Linked DNA regions of Homo sapiens: region 2 is linked to region 1. Evidence: promoter capture Hi-C in 16 types of primary human blood cells and fetal thymus (Javierre and others, 2016). All regions are on one chromosome and are shown on one strand. Each heading gives the region's core, a stretch centred on a gene start or on the middle of the fragment in contact. The rest is flanking DNA. Distances are from core to core; before and after follow the strand shown.

The links. The method cuts DNA at HindIII sites, captures the fragments that hold promoters and counts their contacts. A CHiCAGO score of 5 or more calls a contact.
Region 2: a fragment that was not itself captured here is called in contact with the fragment with the promoter of AQP9 in region 1 in 2 of 17 cell types (M2 macrophages and M1 macrophages); the score reaches 5.7 in M2 macrophages.

The regions. Positions count from the first base shown.
Region 1 is chr15:58,136,952-58,139,877 of GRCh38, forward strand. AQP9 (aquaporin 9) reads left to right here and starts at 1,430. Exons shown (of 6, transcript NM_020980.5): 1 at 1,430-1,725. The coding sequence starts at 1,615. The HindIII fragment of the contact is 735 bases long and covers 910-1,644 here.
Region 2 is chr15:58,070,019-58,072,720 of GRCh38, forward strand. ALDH1A2-AS1 (ALDH1A2 antisense RNA 1) reads left to right here. Exons shown (of 3, transcript NR_147215.1): 3 at 790-2,687. Among named protein-coding and RNA genes, the nearest start is that of ALDH1A2, 5.7 kb to the left of the region's middle. The HindIII fragment of the contact is 767 bases long and covers 871-1,637 here.

The DNA.
Region 1 (2,926 bases), core at 180-2,679:
TAAGAAAGTCCTGTTTCTCTGGTCCATCCACTGGGACTTGGTAATGGTGTGGTCATAGGTAACTCTTCTAGACAATGGTATTTATGATAACTTCATCAGGAATTAAAGCCAAAGTGCTGAGGTTTTGTCCTGGTTCTGCAGTAGTGTGGCCTCAGGCAGGTTATAACTTTTTAAAGTCTAAATTCTAAATGTCACCTACAGATGAGAAGTCTCCTTCTGCCTTTGGCCTCTCACCAGCTGCTTTCTCCATGTCCTCTCCTCCCTCCCTTTTTGCAAAGCTAGGGGAGGGCCTGATGCAGAGCTGGCTTCCCTGTGGGAGGACTGGAAGGAACCACACAGCATGGATACTAATTCCATGAGTCCACATTGGTAATCAGAAACTAGGCCTGCCTTGCTATTTAGAAACTAATGCTATATTCTATTTCTTCAGATAAGCCAGTTTTGAAAAACAAGGCTTGAATATTTGGCAGGACAAGGAGCTACTCCCAAACACAGTTTCTTGCCAGCAAGGATGTCAATTTATCAAATTGAAAGGGTATAACCTAGGAGCCTCGGTTAGGTGTACTGGCTCCCTTTCTCGTTTGATTAGAATGACATACACGCTAATTGATCTCTTTCCGGCTCAGTCATCTCCATGCAGTAAAGAATTTCAAGCTGCTATTGTTTATTTCCTATGTATTATGTCTAAATATTTCATGGTGAATGAAGAAGAGTGACTATTTTCAAACTGGAATGCTTCTTCAGAAGAAACCCAAACTGGAATGTTTCTTCAGAAGAAACTTCAGAAGTCACCAAAAAGGTGACTCCTCCATCTTTCTGATTCTTGGATCCTAAAGTATCTTCAGCAAGTGAAGCCCAGTTTCATAACCGAAGAGGTGACTCCATCTGTCCTACAGACTTGCAGTGTGAAGCTTGCAATGGTTTCTCTGTATGTTAATTTCTCCATCTCTAGGATGGCCTATGTGGTTCTTACTAACCTCAGAGTGGTATCATGAAGCCACTGAAATGATACCAGAAGAAAACAAGAGTGATTAATCTTCTAGGATGATAAATCTATATTTTCTTCAAATTCTTCATTTTGCATAAAAACCTTTTTCAGAAAAGAATGTTAACATTGGATATATCTACACCTGATTTGACAGTTCCAAACTACACCCCAACCACCCACTTCTGAATGAGAAGAAAAAAAAATCAGAAGCCTGCAATTGTGTAACATGAAAATCTTTTCTGGACCAGGGCCCGTCACTGTGATTTGGCAACACAACTGGCACATCTCTTTTCTCATCTCTTGAAAAAAACCAACAGAGAAAAAAGTACCTTGAGAATAAAGGTAATGATTAATCTGTCAGGCACAAAAGGGATTGTTTTGGGGATTTCGGGTTCTAAGTCGCAGATTCAAACAAATAGCAGCGAACAGGGAATGACAGTTCCACCAGAAGACGATTAAGCCACAGCCTCTAATTGGAACGGCATTTGTACAGTCAGAGACTCTTACCAGACATCTCCAGGAATCTGTGAGCCATTGTCAAAACGTCCATTTTCATCTGGCTGTGAAAGTGAGGACCACAACAGGTAGGTATTGGTAGAAACAGGAGTCCTCAGAGAAGCCCCAAGATGCAGCCTGAGGGAGCAGAAAAGGGAAAAAGCTTCAAGCAGAGACTGGTCTTGAAGAGCAGCTTAGCGAAAGAAACCCTCTCTGAGTTCTTGGGCACGTTCATCTTGATTGTAAGTATTTCCTGATTTCCTACATTCAGACCCAATAATGCCTCCCTAGCTGCCAGGCTGGTAGTGGAGAGTTTTGTTTGGTTTGTTTTATTTAAGTTAATTGGGATCAGATTCATCTTTTCCAGGAAGAAACAAGTTACTAGAGGCTGTTTGACTATTTAGGGGTTGTGATATTAAGTTTTCAATTACCTATTGCATTTACCCACAAAAGTTGATGGGAATGGAAGAGAAGGAGTGAGTGAAGTGCCTTCTTTATTTCAGGTATTTACTTATACTCTAAAATGGCTTTGTGATTTAAAAGTCAGTCGTTAGTGTTTTCATTGATCAATTGATTTGTACCCTGCTTGCTTCCTCCAAGCATTGGGGTGACTCAGCCACCTGGAATAAGCATCAATAGTCAATAAATATAGTTGGCAAAAATATACATATGGATGGCAAGAAACATCTCAGTATGACAAGTACTTGACAAGTATTGTGCTGTCAGATCACTTGATTTTTAAGAAATTAAAAATTGCACTAGGTAGAAATAGTGTACCAGGCAATAGTCCAGCTTTAGTTTTGTGTCATTTTTGGTCTCTATTTAAAGCAAAGTAATCTCTAAATATCTTTGGAGATTTACAAGACAATTACAAGAACCTTCTAGATATAAACGAGGGACGACTTCTAAGAACCTCTTGAGGATTGCCCAGAGATTTACTCAGCTATTAACAAGAGACTGGAAAGTTTACTTAAGTGGTCTGGGCTTTCATTTTGCTGCACGTTCTAGCATTCTCTGTATCCTGAAGTTTTACCTGGAACCAGGCCATTTGTGAATAGAAATGTATTATCATGTGGCAACTATTGATTTCAACTGGTTTTTTTTATCCTGCTTAAGGATTTCCTACTCCAGGTATAAATAATTTCATTTTCCTTAAAGTTATAGAGAATAGCCCATAAACTCTGTGCATTAAAAGTTCTTTGCTTGGGGCAAATACATAATAATTTAGAAGAATAAGCTTGGAATGCATCAGCTAAGCCAAGAATGAGAAACAAATGTGAACTCAAAAAATTGAACTAGTGGAATGTGAAGAGAGAGTCATAAGTTTTCTGGTCTCTGAGAAACACATTAGACCAGATTCGTTACAGTATTTTCAGGGAGTTACGGACAATTTCTTGCACTCCTCATCTTCCCTTGGCATTCATTCCTGGCTGCTCTGACCAC
Region 2 (2,702 bases), core at 4-2,503, 67 kb before region 1:
CAGGTGGCCCTGCTTAATTGCTTTCCTGTTCCCATTACTAACCATGATGACAGCCTACCTTTCCTAACAGATACACTTGCATTTTAATTTATCTTCAAAAATAAATCACACATTATAGCATTCCCCTCTTCTGGGCTAATTGAATCAGTTCCTTAAATGTCTCTACATCTAATGATTTGAAAGAGGCACATTGTTTGAAATATTTAAAAAATTAGGGCCCTCAGGTTGTATGCAGAATGATCTCAGTGCTTATTTCAGATATAAGTGTTTCCTAATGATCTCATTCATCTCAAATGGGATATGCCTGGCCACTTTATTTGAAATGTTTCCTGAAAACTCTAACAGGAAAGCTTAATGCAAAATATATTTATAGAGAAATGGTATTTAATTTATTAACAAAAGCTTATAAAGAGCTTTACATATTTTTATCCAGAAATGCTTAATGAAGTATTTGGGACCCATTATGAAAACTTCTATAAAATAAATCCACTTATATTTTTATTTAACCTGTATATTAACTTTTTATGTGAGATCTAAACTCTCATTTAATTATCCTTTTCCTTCTAACATCCAGAAGAAAAGAGGCTGAGACTGTGGTATTTATTAACCATAAAAATTCTCTAGATATTAAGTTCCTCATTTCTTGATATGGCCTCTGGTCACTATATTCTATGAGAAGAGGTATTTGGAGTTGCAGGGAGTAGAGTCCTAATTGGTTATGACTCAAAAAACTATGTTTTGATACAAAACACAGTTCTTTTCTTTTAAAATATACCCTCTACTTTTCAGGGACCCCGGAGACTATTTTAAACATGGGAACTAGATTTGCCTTTGTTGTAAGGCCCAGTTCCATTTCGTATATGTTCGAGAAGCTTCAATTTGGGTACTGGGATGAGCGCAGTACTTCATCAATAATCACACTTAACAGACAGGAAGAAATTAAAATTCCAGCTGCACCGCCTTTTCTGAAGGGCCTGAGGGAAAAGGCATTGGCGCCCCCTGCAGTTGATGGTGTGTATGTGCAACTGAGTATTGTCCATTCAAATAGCTTGGATTCAATGTATTTTTATCTGATACTGGTGAGAAATCCTTAAGAGATGTTATCATTTAATTTGAATTTGTCTGGAGAAAAAAAATCTCCTAGAGTCAGACAAATTTTAGATTTTAGTTAGTTTAGGAGGACTTTCTTTTGACTTACAGGAAAAGAACAAAAGTGTTTCTTAGCCAAATTTACCGTAGAAAGTGCAATACTGAGAACACTATGGTCCCACTCACATAGTGTTCAGAGCACTCTGTCACAGAGGAAGTTGCATGAGTGTGTCTCAGATTGGAAGCTACTGTTTTTATCTTGTGGGTGAGGAAGAATTATTAATAGACAGATTCCAGAATTTATTTCTCTTCTCGCTCAGTTAAGGACTTGGCGTGTAACTAAGTTGTCTGCTTTTTTCTTTATTTCACATTTCTTAGCTTTCCTTTTTCCTTTTACCCTTCTAAAATCCGTCAATTCTACAAATAACTCCTGTTATTATTAGGTTGGTGCAAAAGTAATTGCGAGTTTTGCCATTTAAAAGTAGTGGCAAAGGCCTCAGTTACTTTGGCATCAGCCTAATACTTAACATAGGACCCTCCGATTCCTAAGCTTCCTCCCCAAGTGCATCTGCGCTTATACAGCCACTCAACTCACAGGATCTTTGGACATAAGGAATTCTCACATGAACTTTGGCACTATTCGGGGCAGGGATCTGTATTTATATTCATTAGAAAATGAGGCTAAGTGAACTGTCTCTCTCTTTTTACATGCTGAAATGGGCCACTGAAAAGATAACGAGGAACACTTTAGACGTCCTGACAACAGAGGAGGCATGGCAGCCTCTTTTGTCTCAACCAAACGGTTTGCTGTGTGAAAGGCATAGAGTAAAACTGGGAGGCATTTAGGGCTGGAATAGGTACCCAATTTGGACATCTACCACCAAATGGCAAGGAGCGGTCTTGCTTCAGGCTGTATAACCCCACTTTCAGAGCATCTGTGTTTTCCTGACTGCAGTTCCTAAACCTGGATTTTTTTTCTCTGTCAGTCATCTAAGTTCAATTGAACAAATATTCATTGAGCATATACTATGTGCCAAGCATTGACAAAGAGTCTATGAAGAACCCAACGGAAGTTTGTGGCACATCCCTACCCTCAAATTCACAGTGAGGGTGGAATGACAGTAACCAAATCTGTGAAAATATTCACATGAGACAGGAAAGAAGTCAGAATATCCAGTGTACAATGAGAGTGAAAGAGGATGTCTAAAAGGGGACAGCCCATTCACAACCCACACACAACCCACGCACAAATATTTTTGGGGGGGCCTCCCATGGGCATTTATAATCTTCTAAGTGCTCCGAAGAACATGTGTCACAAAAGATGAAGAGAATATTTTCCAGAACATAGCCCAACAAAGAACTTCTTTGACATTTTTTAGTGTAAAGGTAACTGACGGTATCTACCAAATTAGCAATTTGTAAAACTGGAATTTCTAAAAGCAAATACTTGGAGCTGAGATTACCTCCCACTTCCCAAATTCGAGTTATATGATCTCAAGTATAATACCCTTTGGTATAGACCTAGCCAGAAGAGATAATAGAGGTGAAAACAAGGGCAGCTTATTTTTTTTCCATTAAAAGCATTATATATAACACTATGTCATGTTTCTAGT